Linked DNA regions of Homo sapiens: all the other regions are linked to region 4. The links are contacts of gene promoters, found by promoter capture Hi-C in human tissues and cell types (Jung and others, 2019). All regions are on one chromosome and are shown on one strand. Each heading gives the region's core, a stretch centred on a gene start or on the middle of the fragment in contact. The rest is flanking DNA. Distances are from core to core; before and after follow the strand shown. Region 1 overlaps LOC101927066 (a long non-coding RNA gene). Region 2 has its middle 98 kb from the start of SNORD3H. Region 3 overlaps CPQ (carboxypeptidase Q). Region 4 holds the start of TSPYL5 (TSPY like 5).

What was found. The method cuts DNA at HindIII sites, captures the fragments that hold promoters and counts their contacts. A contact is called where the count stands out against the background at its distance.
Region 1: a contact is called between a fragment that was not itself captured here and the fragment with the promoter of TSPYL5 in region 4, in 1 of the 25 tissues and cell types used here (heart left ventricle).
Region 2: a fragment that was not itself captured here is called in contact with the fragment with the promoter of TSPYL5 in region 4 in 2 of the 25 tissues and cell types used here (IMR-90 fibroblasts and stomach).
Region 3: a fragment that was not itself captured here is called in contact with the fragment with the promoter of TSPYL5 in region 4 in 1 of the 25 tissues and cell types used here (aorta).

What each region holds. Positions count from the first base shown.
Region 1 is chr8:97,435,374-97,438,738 of GRCh38, reverse strand. All of the region lies in intron 1 of LOC101927066 (a long non-coding RNA gene), which reads left to right. Among named protein-coding and RNA genes, the nearest start is that of SNORD3H, 79 kb to the right of the region's middle. The HindIII fragment of the contact is 3,483 bases long and covers 1-3,183 here.
Region 2 is chr8:97,454,329-97,457,628 of GRCh38, reverse strand. No RefSeq gene overlaps it. Among named protein-coding and RNA genes, the nearest start is that of SNORD3H, 98 kb to the right of the region's middle. The HindIII fragment of the contact is 9,600 bases long and covers 1-3,300 here.
Region 3 is chr8:97,122,995-97,126,466 of GRCh38, reverse strand. The region is part of intron 7 of CPQ (carboxypeptidase Q); the gene reads right to left. The region is part of intron 2 of LOC101927066 (a long non-coding RNA gene); the gene reads left to right. Among named protein-coding and RNA genes, the nearest start is that of TSPYL5, 150 kb to the left of the region's middle. The HindIII fragment of the contact is 5,189 bases long and covers 1-3,472 here.
Region 4 is chr8:97,276,430-97,279,844 of GRCh38, reverse strand. TSPYL5 (TSPY like 5) reads left to right here and starts at 1,917. Exons shown (of 1, transcript NM_033512.3): 1 at 1,917-3,415. The coding sequence starts at 2,001. The coding sequence ends at 3,254. The region is part of intron 2 of LOC101927066 (a long non-coding RNA gene); the gene reads left to right. RefSeq lists an enhancer at 2,379-2,880. The HindIII fragment of the contact is 7,330 bases long and covers 1-3,415 here.

The DNA.
Region 1 (3,365 bases), core at 193-2,692, 160 kb before region 4:
TCCTAAAGGCTGGGCTGATACCGTGTGGCTCAAAGCACCAAACCTCTGATCGCGTCATTGTTCTTTCTGGTATGGCTAGTCCCGATCCTGAGTTATCTCTCTATTATAAACTATCTAGGGGGTCCACCATGAGTCACGGTCCACCATGAGTCACCTCATTAGCCTAAACAACTATCAGGGGACCCACCATGAATAACAAAGACACTCTTATCATTTGGGAAATTTTAAGGATTTAGACACTGCCTTCCAGGACCTGGAGACAGAGGCCAAGTTCTTTATTACACGGGAAATGCTTTCAGCAATGATTTGGATAGAGTTGGTGCCCAGGGATATAATCTGGTGGGTAGAGCCCACAGCAGGGAGTCCAAATGGACACCTGACACTAGAGAGGCAGGTGAGTTGCATGTAACAGCTGACATTTAGAAATAGCTGCCCTTAGATTATAGGCAGAAATCATTCAGTGTTGGACACATAGTAGGTGCTTAATATTAAAGAGTTTGTTAAATTAGTGAAATGAGTGTGAGTTGGATGTCAATGGATGTGTAAACTTGGACAGATGAAAAATAGGTGAGGAGGATAGGAGGATGTTTCCAGAACCAACTTGTCAAAGGCCAGAGCAAGGATGCAGGTGGCAAGTTCAGGAGCATGACTGTGGGTTCCTGCAGGACTGGAAGGGGAAGTAGGATGACTAGGAGCAGAACTCACAGATCCTTGAGTACTGGTATTAGTACATCGGTTTGGTCACTTTAATAGAAATCAAGGTAGAAGATTTAGTTCTAAGTCCTGTAAATGTCCAAGCTGGTAGGTGACCCAGGGAGGTGATTTGTTCTGCTTCACAGAGGTATCCAGAGTCCCACGTGCCTTCATTTTATTGTGCTTCTGTCCCCTGAGATATCTTCTGCATGGTTGAATCTGGTTCATTCCTACCCCATCTCTCTTCTAGTGCATGGAAAGGAAGAAAGAGGACATAGGCCGAGCATGGTAGCTCGTACCTGTAATCCCAGCACTTTGGGAGGCCGAGGAGGGAGGATTGCTTGAGGTCAGGAGTTTGAAACCAGTCTGGGAAACATAGTGAGACCCTGTCTCTACAAATATTATGTATAAAAAATTAGCTGGGTGTGATGGCTCGTGCCTGTAGTCCCAGCCACTCGGGAGGCTGAGACTGTAGTCCCTTCACCTTGGGAGGTGGGAGGATCTCTTGAGTCCAGGAATTTGAGGCTGCAGTGAACTATGATCATGCTACTGCACTCCAGCCTGGGCGACAGAGCAAGACCCAGTTCCTGTTTCAAAAAAAAAAAAAAAAAAAAGACATAGAGGGCAAGCAATTTTCTTTTAAGAAGATGATCTAGACATTGCCCACAGTATTTTTCCTCACGTCTCATTAGCTAGAAAGTAGTCATATGGAAACATAGAAAATGTAGACTGTAGCTGAAAAACCTTGTGCCCAGTTAAAACGTAGGTGTGTGTGGGGGAGGGCAAGGGTTGTATTAAAAAAAAGTAAGGAGAGAGTGGATATTGGGGAAAAGTTAGCAGACTATGTCATTCCAGCCTAAAGTGTTTAGACTTCAAATCACAGGATAGTGAGACCTGGAGAGAGTTTTGAGAAGAAATGATCATGCTCAGTTCTAAATGACTTCTAGAGCCACCTTACAATTTCAATTGTAGTATGATAATGTAAATAAGACACTCGTATTATGAAAGCAAGCAATGTATATGGTTGTGTGTGTGGTTGACAAAGAGACATAAGGGAAGTATTCTCTAAAGAACTGACCATTTATTTTCTTTCTCTTTTCTTTTTTTTTTTGAGACAGGGTCTCACTCTGTCACTGAGGCTGGAGTGCAGTGGTGCGATCATGGTTCATGCAGCCTCAATCTCCTGGGCTCAGGTGATCCTCCACCTCAGCCTCCCGAGTAGCTGGGACCACAGGCGTGTGCTACCATGCCCAGCTAATTTTTATTTATTTTATTATTATTTTTTTTTGTAGAAACAGGGTCTTGCCATGTTGCCAAGGCTAGTCTTGAACTCATGGGCTCAAGCAGTCCTCCTGCCTCGGCCTCCCAAAGTGCTGAGATTACAGGCATGGGCCACTGCACCCAGCCAACAGTGTACTTTAGATCTAAACTCTGATAATATTAAATAAGCAAGAGGAGAGGGAATAGTGTTTCATGCAAAAGAACCTGTATGTACAAGTGCCCTGAGGCAGGTTAGAACATGGTGACTAAGAATAAGTAAGTCTAGTGTAAGTGAAATGGAGTGAGCGCTAAGTAATATGGTACAAAATGATTATCGAAGGCTGGGCGCGGTGGCTCACGCCTCTAATCCCAGCACTTTGGGAGACCGAGGCGAAAAGATCACTTGAGGTAAGGAGTTCGAGACCAGCCTGGCCAGCATGGCAAAACCCCATCTCTACCAAAAATACAAAAATTATCCCGGCATGGTGGTGTGTACCTGTAGTCCCAGCCACTTGGGAGGCTGAGTCAGGAGAATCACTTGAACCTGGGAGGTGGAGGTTGCAGTGAGCTGAGATTGTGCCGCTGCACTCCAGCCTGGGTAACAGAGTAAGACTCCATCTCAAAATAAATAAATAAATAAATAAATAAATAAATAAATAAATAAATAAATAAAATAAAATAAAATAAAACAAAACAAAACAAAATGATTATCGAAAGGCAATAAAGGGTCTTTTAAGGATGTCAGTCTCAGACCTAAGGATAGTGGGAATCCTTTGAAGTATTTTAAGCAGGTAAGTATTTCAAATATATTCGTGTTGTTGAGTGTAGAGAAACATTAGAAGGGAGCAAAGGTAGACGAGGTGTCAGCAAGCATTGTAATCTACATTAATTGAGTGATGGGTACCCTAACAGTCCTGACTTGACCACTAAGCAGTCTATACATGTAACAAAATTGCACGTGTACCATATACATTTGTATCAAAAGTTGAAAATTTATTCTTATGAGTAGACCTGTAGTACAAAATTATACCAAATTGTTACTATTATCGTATTTTAAAAACATACCAATTAAAAATTGTAGAAGTTTATGTCCTTTCTTATGAGTACTACATAAATAATGGCCTTGATTTTGGGATTTTGGCTTGCAAAGCCTAAAATATTTATGATCTGGTTCCACTCTCCATGGTTCCTTCTGTGTGGAGGATCCTTTCTAGAGGAACACTCCGCTCTCCCTCTGCTCCTGTGTCGTGTGTCACTCTTCTCCAGACGAGGAGTGTTTGACCTGATTGATGAGTCTGGGAGAAGGAGCTTAGCTTTACCTGCCTTTAGTAAAGACGAGATTTCTTTTGTCCTCTGTTATGAGGAAAGCCTGACAGGGTTGGTCTCCAAGGAGGAGCCTGTCATTTTCCAAC
Region 2 (3,300 bases), core at 237-2,736, 180 kb before region 4:
TCATTCCTGAGTTATTTCACTTAGAATAATGGTCTCCAACTCCATCCAGGTTGCTGCAAATGCCATTATTTCATTTCTTTTTATGGTTGGGTAGTGTTCCATGGTGTGTGTGTGTGTGTGTGTGTGTATATATATATATATATATATATATATATATATATATATACATATCCATTTTCTTTATCCACTCATTGATTGATGGACATTTAGGCTGGTTCCATATTTTTGCAATTGCAGATTGTGCTGCTATAAACATGGATGTGCAAGTATCTTTTTCATATAATGACTTCTTTTCCTCTGGGTAGATACCCAGTAGTGGGATCACTGGATCAAATGGTCATTCTACTTTTAGTCCTTTAAGGAGTCTTCATACTGTTTTCCATAGTGGTTGTACTAGTTTACATTCCCACCAGCAGTGTAAAAGTGTTCCCTTTTCACCACATCCATACCAATATCTATTCTTTTGTGATTTTTAAATTACGGCCATTCTTGCAGGAGTAAGATGGTATCACATTGTGGGTTTGATTTGCATTTCCCTGATAATTAGTAATGTTGAACCTTTTTTTAGATGTTTCTTGGCCATTTGTCTTTCTTCTTTTGAGAATTGTGTATGCATGTCCTTAGCCCAAAAGTTTCCCCTGATCATAAGGACTCCTGTTATATTGGACTAAGGTCTGCTCTAATGACCTTATCTTGACTACATCTGCAAAGGCTCTATTTCTAAATAAGATCCTATTCTGAGGTGCCTGGGATTGTGGCTTCAACATATCTTTTCTGGGAGATACAATTCAATCCCTAACACCAGGTGAGGCGGCTTCATAACAAGGTTGTTTAATTTCTTAATAACTAAATTCCGTGGTCCTGGAACACTCCTGGGCATGGGGTCAGAATTTAGCAAATCATAGTTGAATAAGTAAAGTAATTCCTTACCTAGGTATAGACACTTACAAAGCACCCTCACATACCTTTGAGGTATAGATTATACAATACTAATTTTCTAAGTTTGAAAATGGAGGTTGTGATGGTTAATACTGACAGTCAACTTGATTGGATTGAAGGATACAAAGTATTGATCCTGGGTGTGTCTGTGAGGGTGTTACCAAAGGAGATTAACATTTGAGTCAGTGGGCTATAGGATGGGATTCTGTCTTGGACTCCACTGAGTAGGGGAAATACATTTAAGGGTGGGAAAGGCAGACCCACCCTTAATCTGGGTGGGCATCTTCTAATCAACTGCCTGCCCAGCTAGAATATAAGCAGGCAGAAAAATGTGAAAAAAGAGACTAGCCTAGCCTCCCAATCTACATCTTTCTCCTGTGCTGGATGCTTCCTGCCCTTGAACATCAGACCTCAAGTTCTTCAATTTTGGGACTCGGACTGGCTCTCTTTGCTCCTCAGCCTACAGACAGCCTATTGTGAGACCTTGTGATCATGTGAGTTAATACTTAATAAACTCCCCTTTATATCTCTATCTCTATCTCTATCATCTCTATATCTATTCCATTAGTTCTGTTCCTCTAGAGAACCCTGACTAATACAGAGGCCCTAAGAGGTTAAGAGAATATGCCTTTCATAATCTATAGTTACCTGGTTTGTTTCCTTGTTTATTGTTTGTCTCTCCAAAGAAAAGTGAGGTCAGAGACCTTGACTATTTGCTGAATGCTTTATCTCCACCATCCAGCATGGTGACTAACACATGGTGGGTACTCAATACGTATTTGTGAAGGGGATGAATACATGAAGTAGCCTAACAGCAGGGATCTGAATCCAGGTTTTCCAACTCCACATCTAGTTCTGTTTTGTTATGGATAAATAGATGAATAAAGGAATGTATTTCCCCCACTCAGTGGTGTCCAAGACAGAATCCCACCCTATAGTGAATAATGAATAGTGTTAGTTTGTTGTTCAATGAGACATATTATAATAGTAGGCTGAGGGAAGAAAAAACCCCCACATTTTTCTGGGATTTTTTTATTTTTATTTTTCCTAGATTTTTAAATAACAAACTTAAGAAGAGACGGAGACTAAGTGATGTGTCCCCACCCAAATCTCATCTTGAATTGCACCTTCCACAATCCCCACCTGTCGTGGGAGGAAGCTGGTGGGAGGTGATTAAATTATAGGGGTGAGTCATTCCTGTGCTCTTCTCATGATAGTGAGTGAATCTTACAAGATCTGATGGTTTTAAACAGGAGAGTTTCCCTTCACAAGCTCTCTTCTCTTGTCTGCTGCCATGTGAAATGTGCCTTTCACCTTCCACCATGATTGTGAGGTCTCCCCAGCCACGTGGAACTATAAGTCCAATAAACCTCTTTTTTTTTTGTAAATTGCCCAGTCTCAGGTATGTCTTTATCGGCAGTGTGAAAATGGACTAATACATTAAGCAAGTGGACGTTCAAACATTTCTGACTGTGACCCACAGGAGGAAATTCATTTTGCCTTATAACTTATTAACATACACAAAACTGATACACACATTTCATTAAACAGTACTTACCCTTACACATGCAATATTCTCTGATCCCTCCCCACCCAGGCCCTTGCTCTCTTCTCCTTCTGTTCCTCCCCTTCCATCCTCCCCATTCCATTCAGTTCTGTTCTCTTCCCTTCTCTGCTCTTTTCCACTCCATCTTAAAAGTGCTAATTTCTACTTCCTGGATTGATTTTATGATGCACTGAGTTGTGACCTGTAATTGAAAAATGCTGTGGTAAATACCACTAGGCATTCATCAGAATCCATTTGCCCTTTCTCTGGTCACAGTGAGATTACATTTCCTAGTCTTCTATACATTGAGATTTAACCAGGTGTCTAAGTGCTGTCTAGCAGAATGTGAATGGAAGTAATATGTATAGCTGTCAGGCCTGGCCCATAAAAACCTCCCTGGTGAGTTCCTTTATGCTCCTTTCCTCTCATGGCTAACTGGATGACAATTCCCAGAGAGGCCTTGGTAGCCACTTTCTGAAGATGGCAGCGCCATTGTCAGCCTGGGTACCTGGACTGTTACAGGAAAAAGAATAAACTCCTTGTTCTTTAGACACCTAAATCTTTGTGGCTATCTGTAAGGACAACTAAGCTTATCCTCACTTATCCAATGACCAAGTAGAGGTTTGACTTTCTTTTTTTTTAAAATATACTTTAAGTTCTGGGATACATGTGCAGAATGTGCAGGTTTGTTACATAGGTATACATGTGCCATGGTGGTTTGCTGCACCCAGCAACCCGTCATCTATGTTAGGTATTTCTCCTAATGCTATCCCTCCCCTAGCCTAGAGGTTTGACTTTTGAGAGACGACAGATCT
Region 3 (3,472 bases), core at 309-2,808, 150 kb after region 4:
GAAAACCCAAACAAATACAGCTAGGGAAGGTCACGAAGAGAGGGTTCTCATGCTTGCATGCCTGATAACAAAAAAGACCGCTAAAACCACAACTTTGCACAGAGACCATCAAGACTTTGCATAAAACTTACTTCTGTAAGTACATCTGCCCAGCAGCTACCTGTCCAACCTCAGAAGGTGTCACTCTTGCTATTTTTTATTATTATTTTTTTAAATTATAGGGTTAGTGGGTACAAGTGCAGAAGACGTGTATATATTGTGCAGTTGTGAGGTCTGGGCTTTTAGCGTACCCATCGCACCCTTCTTATTGATCTTTGTAGTCAAGGATAATTATTTTAAAACAATTATGTAATCTTCCTCATTTTTTCCTTGAAAAAGCTTTGTCTTCCTTTACCTCCCTGAATACACACATAGTTAACTACAGCCTAGGTATTTCCATTGCAAAGCTCTATTCCCAGATAAACATCTTTCTTTCACAGAGCCCCTCTCTTTTAGTTATTTAGGTTGACAGTACACAATTCTGTTGTTTATTCATAATAATAATTTTACTACTTCCTTTGCAATCTGTAATCTTTGATTTCTTTATCTTGTCTAATTATACTAGTTGGTACTTGCAATATGATGTTTAAATAGAAGTGGTGAGAACGGGAATCTTTGTCTTATTCCCCATCGTAGTAGGAAAGCATTCACTCTTTCATAATTAAACTGAAGATTTGACATCACTGCCTTTTAACAGGTCGAGGAAGCTGTCACTATTCCTAATTTTCCAAAAGTCATTATTATGAATGGGTGTTGAATTTTGTGCAATGCTTTTTATGCACCTCCTGAAATGATCATACTCTTTCCTTTATTATGTTAATGTGGTAAATTATATTGATCGATTTAAAAATATTAAACCAACCTTAAATTTCTAAGATAAATGCCACTTGAACATAGTATATTATCCAGTTTACATATGGCTGAATTTAATTTGCTTATATTTTGTTAAGAATTTTTGTGTCTATATTTATGAAGGATATTGGTCTATAGTTTTCTTACCATATCTTTGGTTTTGATATCAGTGTCATACACGCCTTATAAAATGAGTTGGGAAGTATTTACCTCTTTCTCTGTTTTCTTAAAGTTTGCATAGTCATGTTATTATTTATCCTTTAAATGGTTCACAGAATTAATTAGGGAACTACCTGGGCCTGGGGTTTTCTTTGAGTAAAGGCTTTTACTTATGAATTCAATTCATTTAATTTATAGGAGTATTTAGGTTTTTTATTTCTTCTTGAATCAGTATTAGCAATTTGTCTTTTAAGGAATTTATGCATGTCATCTGCGTTGTTGAATTTTTTGTATATGTTTGTTCATTAGAGTCCTTTAGTGCCCTTTTAATGACGTATGTGTAGTCATGTGTCCTGTTTCACACCTGAGATTGCCAGTTTGCATCTTCTCTTTTTTCTTGACCAGCTTGATAGTTTATCAGTTTTATAGCTTTGTTTCAAAAAGTCCGTTTTAAAATTCATTGATTTTCTCTATTATTTATTATTTTCTATTTCATTGATTTCTACTTTTTTCTACGTACTTAAGGTTAGTATTTTTGTTGTTGTTGTTAGCTTCTTAATGTGGAAGCTAGATCACTGATTTTAGAACTTTCTTCTTTTCTAACATAAGCATTTAACCTACACATTTCCATCTAAGCACTGCTTTAGCTTCATCCCATACACTGGGATATATTGTGTTTTTATTATCAATAAGGTTCAAATAAATTCTAATTTCCTGGTGATTTCTTCTTTGATCTATGGCTTATTTAGAAGTGTGATATTTAATTTCCAAGTATTTGGGAATTTTCTTGATATCTTAATGCTTTTGACTTCTTACCCAATTCCATGGTGGTCAACAAACAGACCTCATATAATTTTAATCCTTTTAAATTTGTTGAGAAGCTTTTATAACCCAGCATATAGTCTATCATGGTGAATACCCCATGTGCACTTAAAAAGAATGTACACCCTGCTGTTGTTGAATGCAGTGTTCTGTAATATCAATTTGATCAAGTTGATTGATAGTATTGTTTGAATCTTCCATATCCAGACTTTCCAGCTACTTGTTCTAACAACTGCTGAGAAGTGTTGAAATTTCCAGCCACAACTATAGATGTGTGTATTCTTTCAATTCTGTCAGTTTTTTCTTCATGTAGTTTTCAAAGCTTGTAATTGAATGAATTTACTTTTTTTTTTTTTTTTTTTTTTTTTTGAGACGGAGTCTTGCTCTGTCGCCCAGGCTGGAGTGCAATGGTGCAATCTCGGCTCACTGCAACCTCCACCTCCCCAGCTCAAACGATTCTCCTGCCTCAGCCTCCAGAGCAGCTGGGATTACAGGTGTCCACCACCAAGTCCATCTAATTTTTGTTTTTCTTTAGTAGAGATGGGGTTTCACCATGTTGGCCAGGCTGGTCTCAAACTCCTGACCTTGTTGTGATCTGCCCACCTCGGCGAGTGAATTTACTTTTAAGATCACTGTGTCTTATTGATGAATAGATTATTTTACCATTATAAAATGTCCCTCCTCCTCTCTAATAATGTTCTCTATTTTGAAGCCAACTTTTTCAGATAGTACAATTATGACAGCCTTCACGTATACAGAATTTGCTGTATATCTTTTTCTATCCATTTATATCTAACCTAGCTATTTTTATATTTAAAATATTTTTTTTGTAAATAGCATATAACTGAATCTTGCTTTTTTTATTCAGTTTGACGATTTCTGTCTTTTAATGGGGCATGGTTAGTCTATTTATGCCTAATGTAATTACTGATATATTGAGTTTGTATTATATCATCTTGATTTTTTTGTACCTTATTCTTTATTCTTTCACTGTTCCTTTCTTCCTTTCATTTCATATGAGGTTTTTCTTTTCAAATTCCATCTCATCTTTTCTATGGCTTATTGGCTATACCATTTTTTAAAAATGGTTGCTCTAGCATTTACAATATGCATTTTAACTATCACAGTCTTCATTAGATATGTACTTCATATATTTAAGAATTCTACAATAGTATACTTCCACTTATTCTCTTTTCTTTTATGCTATTATCATATATTTTTTCCTATTATATCATTATTATATCTTTATTATTTTTTATTTGAACAGTCCATTTACTTTTCAAGCTATTTTAAAAACCAAAATGCCTTTTATATTTACTCACTATTTTATTTTATTTTATTTTTATTTTATTTTATTTATTTTATTTTATTTTATTTTATTTTATTTTTTATTTTATTTTATTTTATTTTATTTTATATTTTATTTTATTTTATTTTATTTTATTTATTTTATTTTATTTTATTTTATTTATTTTATTTTATTTTATTTTATTTATTTTATTTTATTTTATTTATTTTATTTTATTTTTTTTATTTTATTTTATTTTATTTATTTTATTTTATTTTATTTATTTTATTTTATTTTATTTTATATTTTATT
Region 4 (3,415 bases), core at 668-3,167:
ATCTCTTCCCTCATGGAGCTGACATTCTAGAGAGAAGAGATAGTTAATAAGCATAATAAATAATTGGTATAGTGTGTTGGAATAAAGAAAAAGTACCATAGGATAAAGGGATGGGGTGGGTGGCAATTCTAAATAGGATGGTCATTGAGAAGGTGACATTTAAGCAAAGTGTGAAGGCAGCTGGCCAAGGCCACCAACCACATTGGGAAAGAGCATTTAAGGTAGAAGGAAGAGCCAGTGCAAAGGCTCTGAGGCAGGAGTTTACCTAGTGAGTTTAAGAACAGCAAGGAAGCCAGTGTAGCTAGAGGTGGGAGAGAGGAGAGAGAAGATGAGGTCAGAGAGGTAACTCATGTAGTGGCAGATAGAAGACTTGCCAGATCATACAGGGCCTTGCAGGCTATTCTAGAGCTTTTGAGAAAATGAGGAATCACTTGTATTAGGCCGGCTTAAAATAGGGCCATCTGTATAAAAATAATTCCTCTTTAAATTGTTTCCTTAAACTTAGGGGTGTATACAAATCACCCAGGATCTTGTTAAAATTCAAATTCTGACTTAGTAGGTCTGGGGAAAGGCCTGAGATTCTGCATCTTTAACAAGCTTTCAGGTGATATCAGGCTGCTGGTCCACAACCACACTTTGAGTAATGAGGTCCCGGGGCTTTTGGGCTTATCTCTCCACTAGCTGGTTACAAGGGCCTTTTTGTTCCCTTTGAGCCTGAAAAGACCACCTCAAAAGGTTTTTCTTTATATTTTTACATTAGCCACAGGTCCCCTCACTGTTCATGGTCCTATTACCTCACTAGTAAGAGCGTGGTCCAGGGCTGCCTCCGGGACTGTGGGGGAGGTTGTCCGGCTGTTTCCATGCACAGTGTAAGAAGTTTCTAGGGCTTCTGCAGTGCCACGTGGAGGCTCTGCTTCTGAACCTCAATCTGCTCCCTGAATAATAATTTCACCTCTCACCACATTCTTGTCTTACTCCAATTACAGGAGCTCTAATACAGGTCTTCACTTCTGGTCCTATACCTAGAGTGATAGTCCAGATCTGTAAACTGAGGCAGCTGGGGGACTCGGGTGATGTTCCCAGGCAGAAGAGGTGGTCAGGTGGTCCACGGAAGCCTGTTTGTTAAGGAGCAAGGCTGATTTCTTAAGAGCCAGCCCAGTAATTGACAGTGGAACAAGTCTGGAAGGACTTGCCATTTCCAAATATAAGGCATAGGATACGGAGTCCCATGGGCTTGAGTTTGAATTGTGCTTCCATCCCTTACTGTGTAACCTGGGGAATGTGCCCGGGTGTCTCTGAGATGCAGTTTTCTTATCTCGAAAATGGGAATGATATCAACACCTCCTTTGTAAATTGAGATAATGCATTTAAAGCACCTAGTAAAGTGCCTGGCACAAATGATACAAAATACTAGTTGCCATTATTTTTATAATTTCTACTATCATCTTACTGCGTACCAAATCGCTTTGACGCCCGGCATTATAGCATCCACCTTTACGTTCTCTGGAGTTAAGGTACCAGAGCAAATCCCTCAGCAAAGGTGTTCAAAGAGAGACACACACGCCCGAGCACTTTCTTCATGACAGATGCCACAAGAGATAACTGGAGGAGCTGAAGATGTTTAGTTTAGAAAACAGGTGATGGGGGACAGGTGGTGATGGCTCTTAGCGTTGCCTTGTTCAACGAGACCCTGAGAGCACGATGAGCCCGCGCGGAAGAGATGAAATGGCAGCACCCCCGCGAGCGCATATCAGAGAAACTCGCCGAGACCTAAAGCGAGTCCGCGCGAGATGGGGGTGGGAGCGCCCGCGGGGGTCGTCTCCTGCGCAGCCGCAGCGGCGGCGCCAATCACCGGGCGCATCACGTCCTCTCGCGACGGTACAGTTGTACGTTCGTGACGTCGGCGGTTGCCGTGGAGAGACCCGCTCGGTCCCGACCGAGAGCTGGCGTCAGGAGCCGCAGGGTCACAGCGTGTCTTTGAAGCTGCCTCCGCCGCCACCATGAGCGGCCGAAGTCGGGGTCGAAAGTCCTCCCGCGCCAAAAACCGGGGCAAAGGCCGCGCCAAAGCCCGAGTCCGCCCTGCTCCGGACGACGCCCCGCGCGACCCGGACCCTTCACAGTACCAGAGTCTCGGGGAAGACACCCAGGCGGCACAGGTGCAGGCTGGCGCGGGGTGGGGTGGCCTGGAAGCCGCTGCGTCCGCGCAGCTCCTCCGGCTCGGGGAGGAGGCCGCCTGCCGGCTCCCCCTGGACTGTGGCCTCGCGCTGCGGGCCCGAGCTGCGGGGGACCACGGGCAGGCCGCGGCCAGGCCCGGCCCGGGGAAGGCCGCATCTCTCTCGGAGCGCCTGGCCGCAGACACTGTCTTCGTGGGAACAGCGGGAACCGTGGGAAGGCCGAAAAATGCCCCCCGCGTTGGAAACCGGCGTGGCCCTGCCGGGAAGAAGGCCCCAGAAACCTGTAGCACCGCGGGGAGGGGGCCTCAGGTCATAGCTGGTGGGAGGCAGAAGAAAGGGGCGGCAGGGGAGAATACCTCGGTGTCAGCTGGGGAGGAAAAGAAGGAAGAGAGGGATGCAGGGTCGGGGCCCCCAGCGACGGAAGGCAGCATGGATACGCTGGAGAACGTGCAGCTGAAGCTGGAGAACATGAACGCCCAGGCGGACAGGGCCTACCTTCGGCTCTCCAGGAAGTTTGGGCAGTTGCGACTGCAGCACTTGGAGCGCAGGAACCACCTCATCCAAAATATCCCGGGCTTCTGGGGGCAAGCATTTCAGAACCATCCCCAGCTAGCATCCTTTCTGAATAGCCAAGAGAAAGAGGTACTGAGCTACTTAAACAGCTTGGAAGTGGAAGAGCTCGGCCTTGCCAGATTGGGCTACAAAATCAAGTTCTACTTCGATCGCAACCCGTATTTCCAAAATAAGGTGCTCATCAAGGAATATGGGTGTGGTCCTTCTGGCCAGGTGGTGTCTCGTTCTACTCCAATCCAGTGGCTCCCAGGGCATGATCTCCAGTCCCTAAGCCAGGGAAACCCAGAAAACAACCGTAGTTTCTTTGGGTGGTTTTCAAACCACAGCTCCATTGAGTCTGACAAGATTGTGGAGATAATCAACGAAGAATTGTGGCCCAATCCCTTGCAGTTCTACCTTTTGAGTGAAGGGGCTCGTGTAGAGAAAGGAAAGGAAAAAGAAGGCAGGCAAGGTCCAGGAAAGCAGCCAATGGAGACTACTCAGCCTGGGGTGAGCCAATCCAACTGATCCTGCACAAGTCTCCCTGCTACCTCCTGCTGGGCTGCTCCTGGTTGACTACATATTTGGCTCTCTGCCTTCTCTTCATGTTGGCCTCTGTGTACTATAGACCCTTTGGACTTTAGTTACAAGAATATGGCATTTATGATCATGTTCTTTTGCCTCCCATA